Regions from separate parts of the Homo sapiens genome. Here all the other regions are linked to region 5. Evidence: promoter capture Hi-C in human tissues and cell types (Jung and others, 2019). All regions are on one chromosome and are shown on one strand. Each heading gives the region's core, a stretch centred on a gene start or on the middle of the fragment in contact. The rest is flanking DNA. Distances are from core to core; before and after follow the strand shown.

The links. The method cuts DNA at HindIII sites, captures the fragments that hold promoters and counts their contacts. A contact is called where the count stands out against the background at its distance.
Region 1: a fragment that was not itself captured here is called in contact with the fragment with the promoter of CCDC146 in region 5 in 1 of the 25 tissues and cell types used here (hippocampus).
Region 2: a contact is called between the fragment with the promoter of HSPB1 here and the fragment with the promoter of CCDC146 in region 5, in 1 of the 25 tissues and cell types used here (adrenal gland).
Region 3: a fragment that was not itself captured here is called in contact with the fragment with the promoter of CCDC146 in region 5 in 1 of the 25 tissues and cell types used here (hippocampus).
Region 4: a contact is called between a fragment that was not itself captured here and the fragment with the promoter of CCDC146 in region 5, in 1 of the 25 tissues and cell types used here (dorsolateral prefrontal cortex).

What each region holds. Positions count from the first base shown.
Region 1 is chr7:76,340,933-76,343,632 of GRCh38, forward strand. All of the region lies in intron 1 of YWHAG (tyrosine 3-monooxygenase/tryptophan 5-monooxygenase activation protein gamma), which reads right to left. Among named protein-coding and RNA genes, the nearest start is that of YWHAG, 17 kb to the right of the region's middle. The HindIII fragment of the contact is 7,858 bases long and covers 1-2,700 here.
Region 2 is chr7:76,301,223-76,303,922 of GRCh38, forward strand. It overlaps HSPB1 (heat shock protein family B (small) member 1), which reads left to right and starts at 1,451. Exons shown (of 3, transcript NM_001540.5): 1 at 1,451-1,854; 2 at 2,580-2,643. The coding sequence starts at 1,491. The HindIII fragment of the contact is 16,042 bases long and covers 1-2,700 here.
Region 3 is chr7:77,681,272-77,683,971 of GRCh38, forward strand. The region is part of intron 1 of APTR (Alu-mediated CDKN1A/p21 transcriptional regulator); the gene reads right to left. Among named protein-coding and RNA genes, the nearest start is that of APTR, 14 kb to the right of the region's middle. The HindIII fragment of the contact is 5,959 bases long and covers 1-2,700 here.
Region 4 is chr7:76,553,078-76,555,815 of GRCh38, forward strand. The region is part of intron 2 of LINC03009 (long intergenic non-protein coding RNA 3009); the gene reads left to right. Among named protein-coding and RNA genes, the nearest start is that of LINC03009, 5.1 kb to the left of the region's middle. The HindIII fragment of the contact is 3,853 bases long and covers 1-2,738 here.
Region 5 is chr7:77,121,361-77,124,079 of GRCh38, forward strand. CCDC146 (coiled-coil domain containing 146) reads left to right here and starts at 1,255. Exons shown (of 19, transcript NM_020879.3): 1 at 1,255-1,372. It also overlaps the pseudogene FAM185BP. RefSeq lists enhancers at 44-545, 546-1,045 and a silencer at 941-1,040. The HindIII fragment of the contact is 9,649 bases long and covers 1-2,436 here.

The sequences.
Region 1 (2,700 bases), core at 8-2,507, 780 kb before region 5:
GTAGTATGATCAGGGCCCACTGCAGCCTCGGGCTCAAGCAATCCTTCTGCCTGAGCCTAGCCTCCCAAGTAGCTGGGACTACAGGCATGTGCCACCAAAGTGATCCTCCCGCCCCTCCCCAGCCCCCTAAAGTGCAGGGGAAGCCACCGCACCTGGCCCATACAGAATCTTGTACAGGGGCTGGGAGGGTTGGCTCATGCCTGTAATCCCAGCACTTTAGGAGGCTGAAGCTGGCAGATCACTTGAGGTCAGGAGTTTGAGACCAGCCTGGGCAACATGGTGAAACCCCATCTCTAACTAAAAATAACTAAAAATACAAAAATGAGCCGGGCATGGTGGCTCGCACCTGTAATCCCAGCTACTCAGGAGGCTGAGACACGAGAATCACTTGAACCCAGGAGGCGGAGGCTGTAGTGAGCTGAGGTGGCGCCACTGCACTCCAGCCTGGGTGACAGGACAAGACTCTTGCCTCAAAAAAAAAAAAAAAAAAAAAAAAAAGAGAAATCTTGTAATGTTCACAGCAACGTTAGTCCTAAGAGCCAAAAGGTGGAAACAATGCAAATGTACATCAAATGAGGAACGGCTGAACAAAACGTAGTGTGATCTATGTAATGGAATATTATTTAGACAGACAAATGATGCACTGATAACATGCTACACCGATGATCTCGAAAACATTTTGCTAAATGGAAGCAGCCAGTCCAAAAGACCGCATATTGTTTGATTCCAGTTACATAATATGTCCAGAATAGGCAAATCCATAGAAATAGAAAGCAGATTAGTGGTTACTTAGGGCTGGGTTGGGAGGGGAGGTGATGGGGAATGACTGCCAATATGGGGTTTCTTTTTGGGTTGATGGCATGTTCTAGAATGTGGTGATGGTTATGCAAGTCTGAACATACTGAAAACCATTAAATTGCACACTTTAAATGGGTGAATCGCATGGTATGTAAACTATATCTCAACAAAGCTACTGAAAAATTGCTGCACTATACGACAGTTTATATAGCACTCTCACACACACCAGCAATCAAACATCATCAGCTCACTTGTTTGAAATATAAAATTCGAAATACTTGATGCTTCTTAATACATGGACTTACACACAGAAAACTCACTGTAATGGAGCACAGACCTCTGGCTCTTACATTTAATCCTCCTCTTGTGACCTCCTACCAACATCTAGTAATGTAGTGCAGGTTATATTTCTCAATATCCTCTCCAAAAAGGTGAACGAAAGGGCTTGTTTAGATTTATGCACAGCTATCATAAAAGAAAGATGAAAAAGGACAGGAAATGTACATGTCCTGCCATGGGTATCTGTCATTATGAAGCATTCGATCCCACCAATACGGAGGAAAAAGTCAAAGAAGAAACACACTAAGAGAACTCACTCTGAAATGCAGATAATCCACACCTTCCTCCCCAAACCAGCACTCCCTTCCTTCTTACAAACCCTGCTGGGTGAAGGACGGTCTCTGACCCTATGTTGCACACTCCTGTGAGAACTTGGTTGAATTCCACCTTCAGAGGTTAACAAGTACTTGACTTCTTCATATCAAGGCTGCTTATTTCCCTACAACTGCCATTCGCTGGCCTTAAGATCTTTCTCTCTTGGGGGCCAGAATGCATTTTTGAAACTGGCGAGACTGGTTCTCATATCCTAGAGTCTTCTCTAACTTTACTCACTGTTTCCATCCCTGTCCCAATCTTCCCCTAAATGCGCTCCTGCTTATCAATACCTTTCAGCCTGCTATTTAGTATATCAGGCTTCGAACCTCCGCTGGGCTACTTTCTGAACTCATCAAACAAACTAGTGACTATTTCTAATTAATTACTAGTTTTATCATAGATCTGACTTGGAAGTGGCGGGGAGAGAGGACTTTCCCACCAAAAAATTAAACTGTTAAAAAAAATTAACCAGCCGGGCACAGTGGCTCACACCTGTAATCCCACCACTTTGGGAGGCCGAGGCAGGAGGATCACCTGAGGTCAGGAATTCGAGACCAGCCTAGCCAACATCATGAAGCCCCGTCTCTACTAAAAATACAAAAATTAGCTGGGTGTGGTGGCAGGCGCCTGTAATCCCAGCTACTTGAGAGGGTGAGGTAGGAGAATCGCTTGAAACCAGGAGACAGAGGTTGCAGTGAGCCAAGATTGCACCATTGCACTCCAGCCTGGGTGACAGAGCAAGACTCCATCTCAAGAAAAAAAATTAGGTTGTTATGTGTAAAAGCTGTTGTAAACTATGGTGTACTGCAGCCGTTTTTAAAAATCAGCTTTATTAAGGTATCTACTGGGTGGAGGCCAGGGATGCTGCTGAACACCCTACAATGCACAGGATGGCCTCCACATTAGCAAAGGATCATCTGCTCCGAATGCACATATTGTGGAAGCAGAAGAACCCTGCTGTGAGTTCTCGATACCCCAGCCACCAGACTCAGACTCTTCCCATCACACCTCTCTCTGCTTCTTCACATTAATATAACGCTCATACTCCACCCCTAGAATCTGGGCTTGGCCATATGAATCAGCATCACCCATGAATCATGGTGGTACCTTAACTCAACAGTCACTTCTGAAAGTGTGCTGAATGACATCAATCTCCACATGATGTACCCATCTGAGATTGTTTTCAAAAAGGGTCCTAGTAATTCCTCCTGATTCTGTCATTCCTTCCACCCACCTCCTTTCCAATAT
Region 2 (2,700 bases), core at 201-2,700, 820 kb before region 5:
CATCAGCCTCCCAAAGTGCTAAGATTACAGATGTCAGCCACTGCACCCAGCCAGTAATATAATTTTATGGGACCACCTTCATATTTGCTGTCCCTTGCTGACTTACACATCTTTATGCAATGCATGACTGTTACCATCATTATCATCTCTATTTTCCAGATGGGGAAACTGAGGCACAAAGAATCTAACTTGCACAAGTTCATCTGCTTAGTGATGGAACAAAGATGTGAATTCAGGCAGTCTGGCTTCAAAGTCCACACGCCTAACAACCACACCAGATTACTAGATTGCTTTTTTCTTTTTTCTTTTTTTTTTTTTGAGATGGAGTCTCACTCTGTCACCCAGGCTGGAGTACAGTGGTGAGATCTCGGCTCACTGCAACCTCTGCCTTCTGGGTTCAAGCAATTCTCCTGCCTCAGCCTCCCCAGCAGCTGCGATTACAGGCGCCCGCCACCACACCCAGCTAATTTTTGTATTTTTAGTAGAGATGGGGTTTCACCATGTTGGCCAGGCTGGTCTCAAACTCCTGACCTCTGGTGATCCTCCCACCTCGGTCTCCCAAAGTGCTGGGATTACAGGCGTGAGCCACCACGCCCAGCCCAGACTGCTTTATTTTTGTATTTGTATTTATTCATTTACTTATTTTGAGACAGGGTTTTGCTCTGTAGCCCAGGCTGAAGTGCAGTGGTGCAATCCAGCTCACCACAGCCTCTACTCACCGGGGTTCAAAGGATCCTCCTGCTTCAGCCTCTGGAGTAGCTGGGGCCACAGGCATGCACCACCATGCCCAGCTAATTTTTAAATATTTTTTGGTAGAAGTAGGGTCTCACTATGTTGCCCAGACTGGTCTCAAACTCCTAGCCTCAAGGGACCCTTCTGCCTTGGCCTCCCAAAGTGCTGAGATTACAGGCATGAGCCATGCACCCAGCCCCTTTTTAAAATTTTTTTGAGAGACAAGACTTTGATCTGTTGCCTAGGCTGGAGTGCAGTGGTGAGATCATAGCTCACTGCAGCCTCAACTCCTGGGCTCAAGCACCAGACTCCTTTTATCACATTCTATCTCACACGCGTGTGGTTCCAATCCTGCCTCTGCCACTTCTCAGTTGTATGCCCCAACCCAACCTGTCTGGCTCTGTCCTCCTTAACAGAAGGACGGCCCTGGCCACGGGCCACAGCCAGCAACGCTTAAGCACCAGGGCCGGCGAGTGCCCTGCCGTGGCACGGCTCCAGCGTCGCGCTCTCGAATTCATTTGCTTTCCTTAACGAGAGAAGGTTCCAGATGAGGGCTGAACCCTCTTCGCCCCGCCCACGGCCCCTGAACGCTGGGGGAGGAGTGCATGGGGAGGGGCGGCCCTCAAACGGGTCATTGCCATTAATAGAGACCTCAAACACCGCCTGCTAAAAATACCCGACTGGAGGAGCATAAAAGCGCAGCCGAGCCCAGCGCCCCGCACTTTTCTGAGCAGACGTCCAGAGCAGAGTCAGCCAGCATGACCGAGCGCCGCGTCCCCTTCTCGCTCCTGCGGGGCCCCAGCTGGGACCCCTTCCGCGACTGGTACCCGCATAGCCGCCTCTTCGACCAGGCCTTCGGGCTGCCCCGGCTGCCGGAGGAGTGGTCGCAGTGGTTAGGCGGCAGCAGCTGGCCAGGCTACGTGCGCCCCCTGCCCCCCGCCGCCATCGAGAGCCCCGCAGTGGCCGCGCCCGCCTACAGCCGCGCGCTCAGCCGGCAACTCAGCAGCGGGGTCTCGGAGATCCGGCACACTGCGGACCGCTGGCGCGTGTCCCTGGATGTCAACCACTTCGCCCCGGACGAGCTGACGGTCAAGACCAAGGATGGCGTGGTGGAGATCACCGGTGAGCCCCCCTGCTCCTGCAGGGGAGAGGAGGAGGCTAGCAGGGCGGGCAGGGCCGGGGGCGTGCGGTTGAAACGGGGGTCCCGGGGGCCTGGGGAGTTAAACGTTGGCCCAGCACCGGGAAAAACAGGACTCCTGATTCCCTTGCTCAGGAATTGGGAGTGCGGGTCGCTTCTAAGGGCGCTTTCTGCTCTGTAATCCCAGCGCTTTGGGAGGCCGAGACGGGAGGATCGCTTGAGGCCAGGAGTTCAAGACTAGCCTGGGCAACATAGCGAGACGCGCCCCCCCGCCCCGACCCCGCGCCATTACAAAAAAAAAGCAAACAAAAATTTTTTTAAAGATCATCGATGAAGAGAGAAAATGCGCTTTTCTACAGAGTCCCCTTCCCACCCACAGCCCCATCCCCAGATAAGCGGGGAGTTCCCTGGCGCGGTGCCAGTTTCTAGCCGCTGAGTGGGCGTGTGCGCGGCTCCAAGTGCGCCTGCGTACTGCTCACTCCCCAGCTCCGCGCCCTGCTCCGTTCCTCCCAAAACTCTGAATCGAAGAACTTTCCGGAAGTTTCTGAGAGCCCAGACCGGCGGGCACGCCCCCATCCCCAACCCCCTCTGTTAATCCCTACCAGCCTGCAGTCCTGGCTGCTTCCAAGCAGGAGGTGGGGCCTCTGGCCTAGCGGGGCCGAAAGGCAGTCCCCTCCCCCGCAGTCTGATTTCCCTCTTCCCCCCAAAGGCAAGCACGAGGAGCGGCAGGACGAGCATGGCTACATCTCCCGGTGCTTCACGCGGAAATACACGTGAGTCCTGGCGCCAGGTCGGGGTGGGTGGGTGGCGTGGGGGTGGGGTCAGGGAAG
Region 3 (2,700 bases), core at 129-2,628, 560 kb after region 5:
TTGCTGACTTACAAATAGGCACCAAAGAAGTACATCTGAGTTTGAGGTGTATCCCTAGCCTTGAAAACTCGATCACAGTGTTTTGTAATCTCAGGCACATGTCTAATGTATGACTTGTATAAAAAGGACAGGTTGTCCTTAATACTTGAAGATTAAGTAGCTAGACTAGTGCATGTTTTGCCTATAGCCCTCCCCATGCTGATGAGATACTATTACACTGTTCACAGCTATGATTTCGCTTGGTAGGACCCCATCTTCAGTCAGTTTGGGCTGGTGTAATAAAGTACCATAAACTGGATAGCTTAAAGACAATTTATTTCTCACAGCTCCGGAGGCCGAATGTCCAAGATCAGAGTGCCATTGTAGGGTTCTGGTGAGGGCTCTTTTCCAGGCCGACTTCTTGTATCCTCACATGGCAGAAAGGGAGTGAGCTAGCTCTATGGACTCTTCTTATATGGCACTAATCCCATCCACGAGGGTTCCACTCTCATGACCTATTACCTCCCAAAGACCCCATCTCCAAAACCCATCACATTGGGAATTAGGTTTCAACATATGAACAGGAAGGGAAACATACATCCATAACCAGCCATATTTTTGCTTTTGACTCCACTTCTGCCTAATGGGATTAAATGATACTTTTTTTCTTAAATGTAAATATTTTTTGCCTATAACTGTTGCATATCACCATCCTGTCTTGAGTTAAAGATAAAATATTTCCCAATTTCTTCAACCTTTAACATAAACTGTACTACAAATGTAAACAAATTGTTTTCCCACCACAATGGCTTTAAAAAGTAGAATAAACACTGCAATCAAGACATCACTTTAAGTTAAATTATTATTTTTTGTTTTTTGCATCAGGGCCTTGCTCTGTTGTCCAGGCTGGAGTGCAGTGGCATGATCATGACTCACTGCAGCCTCAACCTCGTGGGCTCAAGCAATCCTCCCACCTCGGCATCCCAAGTAGCTAGGACTACAGACATATAGTACCATGCCAGCTTAATTTTTTAATTAATTTTAATTTTTAGTAGAGAAAAGGTGATATGGTTTGGCTTTGTCCCCACTCAAATCTCATCTTCAATTGTAGCTCCCAGAACTCCCACATGTGGTGGGAGGGACCCGGTGGGAACTGAATCATGGGGACGCTTTCCCCATACTGTTCTCATGGTAGTGAATAAGTCTCACGAGATCTGATGATTTTATAAGGGGTTTCCCTTCTCACTTGGCTCTCATTTCTCTTTTGTCTGCCGCCACCTAAGACATGCCTTTCACCTTCCGCCATGATTGAGGCCTCTCCAGCCACATGGAACCGTGAGTCCATTAAACCTCTTTTTCCTTATAAATTACCCAGTCTTGGGTATGTCTTTATCAGCAGCATGAGAACGAACTAATATACAAGGGCTGATCTCAAACTCCTGACCTCAAGCAATCCTCCTACCTTGGCATCCCAAAGTATTGGGATTACAGGCGTGAACTACTGCACCTGGCCTAAGGTCAATTCTTGAATACAGAGACTGAGTAAAGATAGGACGTTGATAATTTGGACTCTTAAACATAAACCAACTCTTTAAAGCCTTTACATCATCTCATCAGTGTTGCCTGAAGTTTTTGACCAAGTAGCTCAATTTGCTAGGGCTGCTGTAACAAAGTATCACAAACTGGATAGTTTAAACAACAGACATTTGCCTCACAGTTCCTGAGGCTACAAGTCCAAGATCAAGGTGTCAGCGGGACTGATTCCTTCTGAGGGCTGTGAGGAGAATCTGTCCCAGGACCCTCGCCTAGCTTCTGACAGTTTGCTGGCTACCTTCGGAGTTCCTTGGCTTGTAAAAGCATTACCCCAATGTCCGCCTTTACCTTCAAAAGGCATAGGTATTCTTCCCGTTTGTGTGTCTCTGTTCAAATTTTCTGTTCTTGGAAGGACATTAGTCATACTGGATTAGGGATTGGGGGCCCACCTTTTCGCTCCTTCTTTTCTTCTTTCTTTTGTTTGTTTGCTTGTTTGTTTGAGACAGAGTCTAGCCCTGTCTCCTAAGCTGGAGTGCAGTGGTGTGATCTTGGTTCACTGCAAACTCCACCTCCCAGGTTTAAGCGATTCTCCTGCCTCACCCTCCCGAGTAGCTGGGATTACTTACAGGTGTCCGCCACCAAAATACAAAATAATTTTTGTATTTTTAGTAGAGATGGGGTTTCACTATGTTGGCCAGGCTGGTCTCGAACTCCTGACCTCAGGTGATCCGCCCGCCTTGGCCTCCCAAAGTGCTGGGATTACAGGTGTGAGACATCAAGCCCAGCCTAATTTGTGTATTTTTAGTAGAGACGGAGTTTCACCATGTTGCCCAGGTTGCTCTTGATCTCCTGACTTCAGGTGATCCACCCACCTTGGCCTCCCCAGAGTGCTGCGATTACAGGTGTGAGCCACCATGCCTGGCCTCCTATTGCTTCTTAACTTGACCTCATTAACTATTGCATCTGCAATGATAGTATTTCCAAATAAGGTCACAGTTTGAGATAATGAGGGTTAGAACTTAAACATGAATTTTTGAGGTACACAATTTAACCTGTAATACACCATATTATGTCTATATTTATTTATTTATAAATTATTTGGATCCAGTACTATAATAACAATTACACACATTGTAACTCCTACACAATTTGAAATTTTCAAGTTAAGACAAAGGTAACTATATATAG
Region 4 (2,738 bases), core at 227-2,726, 570 kb before region 5:
TGAATATTTTTATCCTCTCTGAATATTTCCATTAAAGAGTTTATTTAAAAGAATTTTTAAATCTTCTCATTATGTCTTAACAGCATGATATCATACTCTACTTTTTGACTTCTCCATTTGATATGGAATAAAATTGCATCATATGGCCAAGGCATATACACTTAAAGTCTTCAATTTAGAAGCTTTCCAGAGTCAAACTGAGTCAATCTCTGCTTTAGAAGTCTCCCACAAAAAGGATCCTACATAAATTACTGTGTGTTTAAAGGTTTCTGATTTTAATCTAATAACTGAAATATCAAACTATATTTTAATTCAGGCATTTGGGCATCACTACCACGTGTTCTCATCAGATTTAGGAACCCTGCAGCAAGATTTATCAGTGTCAAAATGCTAAAATCCTAAATTTAGTGCCAGAATCCCTCTCAAATGGCATTTATATTTTGATAGCTTAACCTACTTTGAATCCCCTGAGCATCTTGTCTGTTTTTATTAGTAGATTTTGCTGATCTTTTTTAACTTTTCAAAGGCTCTTTAAATTATCCTAAAGTCATATATTTACCATGAGAAAGCAGGTGTCTTTTTAGAGTGTAGATGCTTAAGTCGCTCATAAAATTAATTTCCTCGGGTTAGGAGAACATTTTGAAACTCTAATTTGAAAAACTCTAATCTGGCTTCTAAAAACACTGTATCAGTATTCAGAAATAATAAAAATGGAAACATAACAACATAATAAATTTAATTTAACCTAGCATAGCAAAAGAGTAGGGCATTTTTGCATAATCAGCTAGATAGTTTTCAGAGGCAAACACAGAGCAGTGGAGACTTTGTTTGGAGACAGCCATTGTTTCAAGAAATGGGTGTTGCCTTGATGAAGCTACCCTTGCTTGTCACTGCAGATCCGTCTCCTGCTATCACCAGCTCTGTGTAACATTGCCTATGCTGTGGACACACAGAGATACTTGACAGTCAGTGGATGAACTCAATAAATGTTATTATTTTTAAATACACAGCTTACTAAACAGATAAATAATCTTAAAATTGAGACTGTTCCAGAAACCAGAATGCATTTTCTTCATACTCATAGCTTTTGTGGTTTACATACATTTATATAATTAGAATGCAATAAAATACATTAAACAGTAAAATAATACTCTATATAATTTAATCTCTGGGGATCCAGAAGGCACTTTAAGCTATTACAGTTTCTCAGAGTCAATGTTATGTACTTTATAATTTTTTATTCTACTGGTAAAACATGGTGATATTGATTAACAGATATTTTAGTAGATATAATATTTTATAAACTGATTTTATTATGTCTTGTTAATATTGGGATAATCAGAATATAGAGAGACTTCTATACATACACATATATTCTATATCTTCATAGCTAGACTTGAAGTATCTCACTTTGATGTTTCTAAAAATAAAGTGAGCACTTTTGTTCTTTTTAATATTTTATTTATTTATGTATTTATTTATTTATTTTTGAGACGCAGTCTTGCTCTGTCAACCAGGCTGGAATGCAGTGGTGCGATCTCGGCTCACTGCAAACTCTGCCTTCCTGGTTCAAGCGATTCTCCTGCCTCAGCCTCCTGAGTAGCTGGGATTACAGGCTACTACCACCACGCCTGGTTAATTTTATTTTGTGTGTGTATTTTTAGTAGAGACAGGGTTTCACCATGTTGCCCAGTCTGGTCTCGAACTCCTGACCTCAGGTGATCTGCCCACCTTGGCCTCCCAAAGTGCTGGGATTACAGGCATGAGCCACTATGCCCAGCCCACTTTGTCCTTCAATTTCTTCCTTCTTCTTCATTTTGACCCCCAGTTTACATCATTAAGTACATAGTCTCGAAACCTCAAAGTATCAGTGTTATCCTTATTTTTTTTTCTCCTTCTCTGAATTTGCCTGATAGTCAAAACCTGTGCCTACTACCACTTAAAGGTTTTTTTTTTCATCTGTCTGACTAGATTGTCCACTGTCTCACCAAATCTTGCTTTGACTAGTAATAATGGCAGTTGAGAGTACTGCCTATCACTTGACCAGACTAGCTAAATGCTGAACATTCATTATAATATTTAAATCTTTAAACCAACCTTGATTTTTATTTTGATTTATGAGATGACTCTACCAAAGGTTAGATTCTGATTTTGGAGAGCTAGATCATAATAGAGTCAGAATTCTGTTCTTAACTTCTACACTGTACTCCAACAACAGTCAAACTGTTACTTTCTCATTCAGGGTAAAATCCTGACCAAACCCATTACTGAAAACCTTCCTTTTTTATCTCAGCTCCCAGTCTCCACCCCATGTATCTGATACACCTGTGACAATGATCTTTTCTCCATATCTAGAAAATATCACCAACTTACAGTGCCGTGTTATGGTATAGGCTCTTATTTCCACTTCCTTTCATCACAGTTCTATTTATTTCTCAATACACAGTTGAAGATCAGTTGAAATATCAATTTCAGCATAACTTCCCATACTTGGGCATAATTTAATAGCTTACCAGACAGTAGCATATAATGTAGTGACTTGGGAGCCAGACTTCCTGGGTTTGAATACGGGATGAAAATTCACCAGTCTTTTGACCTTGGGAAAGTTACTAAACCTTCCTATACACCAGTTTCCTCATCCGTGAAATGAGGCAAATTATAGCACCTACCTCTTAGGGTTGTTATAAACCTTAAATCAGTTAGTACAAGTAAAGGCCTTAGAACAGCACCTGGCACAT
Region 5 (2,719 bases), core at 5-2,504:
GCCAGTTTGCTAATGACAACGGGATAAAGAAGAACACAAGCGGCTCCAGAAATAGAATTTGACCTGGATTATACCAAATCGTGTTTCCATTCGATGTATAAAATTTCTATAATTGGGAACCTAATTTTTTAAATACTACTCGGATACTCAAGAATAGAACAGAGGAAAAGTTGCATTTCCGAAGGGGCCAACTGTAAATTAGGTTTAGAAAGCCAGGACCAATTAAAAGTGCACGTCGACCAAATTTATTAAGTTCACTGTGCGTTCCCTGGGACCCAAACCCGTTTTCACTTCACTTCACTTGCCAAACTTCAGGGGCGCGTTCACCTCCACGGACGCCTGGGGGTGGATAGTATCAGACACAATGGCCATCTCCTCCAGATCCTCGTCGTACTTCACCTGCAGGCCGTCCAGGCCCCGCACGCCGCCCTCCACGCCGCACACCGCGACCAGCACGCGGTCGCCATCCGGGTAGGTGAGGGGGTCCAGGGGCCTCACGGCCAGGTGGCACGGGAGCCGCGCCCGCAGCCGACCGAACGGGCTCACCTGCAGTGTCCACTCCTTCAGAGTTCGGCGCGCCGGGCCAGGCGGAGGGACCTCAGTCTCCGATCCGGGCCAGCGCTCGCCCCTACCTGAGCTGTACGGCCTGGCTTGGCAAGCCCAGCAAGACCAGCGCCCAGCGCCAGCCCACAGTCGGACCTGACGGAGACAGAGACGGAAGCAGCCAAGCTCCCAACCTGAACAGGGGGCAAGCATGGCGCGCCTCTCTCGCCAGTCCTCAGAACACTTCAGCCACAGGGAGGGTCACTTGCCACGGCCAATCGACTTGGCCACTGTGCCGCCTCAAGTCAAATAGGAGACGTAAGTCAGGGTTTGCTGAAACAAGAGCGAGCCGGTTGGCTTGACTAGGCGATGTAAACATCAGCTGCGTAATCCCCAGGGGCAAGTTGGGATTTGAAAGCTCTGAACTCTGACCTGGACCCCTTGCCTAAGTCCACCCCCTTTCGCTAAGGCCGACGGGATACGTAGTTCTAAAGCGGTGGAAAGTCGCAGAGCTCCGCCTCTTAGAAACCACATATCCCAGGAGGCAATGCGCAGGGGAGCACGGGTAAGAGGGCAGGTGTTAGAATCGCTGGAAAGGCGGGCGCCCTTTGTTTCAAGACCATTGGCTATTGGAGGGGCGGTACATGGGAGGCCACTGGCCAATGGGAAGCACGGAAGGGGGCAACGAGGGTAAAGCTGCATGGTCACCTTGGATACCAAGGACGCGACTTCTTGTTTGGAGAGGGTGGAGCTTTGGAGTGAGACCCAGGAGGCCAAATCCCAAAGAGAAAAATAGGAGCCTAAATAAGGATCAGGACCAAGGGAAGGGGTAAGAAACTGCGCTTTTTAAGTTGACAACTAGGTGCAAACTAGGAGTAACCTATGTGGATGTCAAGATCCAAGCTTCACTAACCTAGTGCGGGCATCTCCAGGGCATGGAGAATGCCTTGGTAAGAGAGTAAAGAGCAAGATTGGTGCTTTTTGAGGGAATTGCCTCTTTGGAAGTGTATTCCCTCCTATATTCCAAATATAGGAATAGAGTACTTGCTCCGTCCTGACCCTAAGTGACCTTACTTTGGGTTTTAATTTGCTCACTTTAAAAATGTAGATGATAATACCTTCCTTGCCTTGCCTCAAAGGGTTTTTGTGAGGATCAAGTAAGAAAATGGATGGGACCGTGGTGCACAGTCTACCAAATTACCGTGTAAAGTACTGTATTTTTATTTCAACGTACTTAACATTGATTCTGAGTTACCAAGAAAATTATGAGAGATCAGAACTTGTTTTGAGAATAGCATTGATCTCTTTGACTACAAATGATCATCAGTTTTAGAGTGAAAAAAAAAAAGACACAAAAAAGAGAGTCACCATGGTGCGGTGGAAAGAGCAGGGACAAGGGTCAGATTATTTTCCTGGCTCTGCCACTGCTTCATCTGTGTCACCTAGACCTGTTTCTTTAGTTTTAAAATGAAGAAAGATGGTTCTAAATGACCCTATAAGGTGTGTGTGTGTGTGTGTGTGTGTGTGTGTGTGTGTGTGTGTGTGTGTGTGTGTTTACCTTTTATAATTCTATGGGCAGTAAAATAATGGGAACAGAAAGATTTATTTTCTTCTTTTTTTCTTCTTTCCTGCCTGGTTTCTCTCTCCCCCTCTGTGCCCCTACTTCCTCCTAAAATGTATTCCCTAAATTATTTAGCCAAGACACCTGCAAACACTAACATTTCATAAAATGCAAGTGCCTTAAAAAATTGAAGCCCTTACCCAAGTACAATGACCAGAATTCTTGGGGCTATCGTGATAGATAGACTGGGCTAAAGTTCTCATGGGTACAAGTCTCAGGTTCTCTGCTAGCCACTACCTTTTTAAAATTTTTAAAAATTCAGTGTTCTCTTAAGTTATCATTGCCTCTTTTCTGTCCTTCTAGTCCTTGCTCCCTCCTTATTCTTCTTTCGGTGAAGACTCACTCATTATAGGTGCTAGCTCAGGTTCAGCAAGGGCCCACTGCAATAGTTCTTTTCTTGTCTTTGTGTTTCATTGGTTATAATTATTCAGAATAATCTTCAAACTATTTTTTATGAAAATTGACAGGTGTAACTTTGAAAAGAAATTTGAAAAAGGCACTGGTTTAAGGAAGTTGAGAATGTACTCAAATTTTCTGTAGAAACACTAGACATTT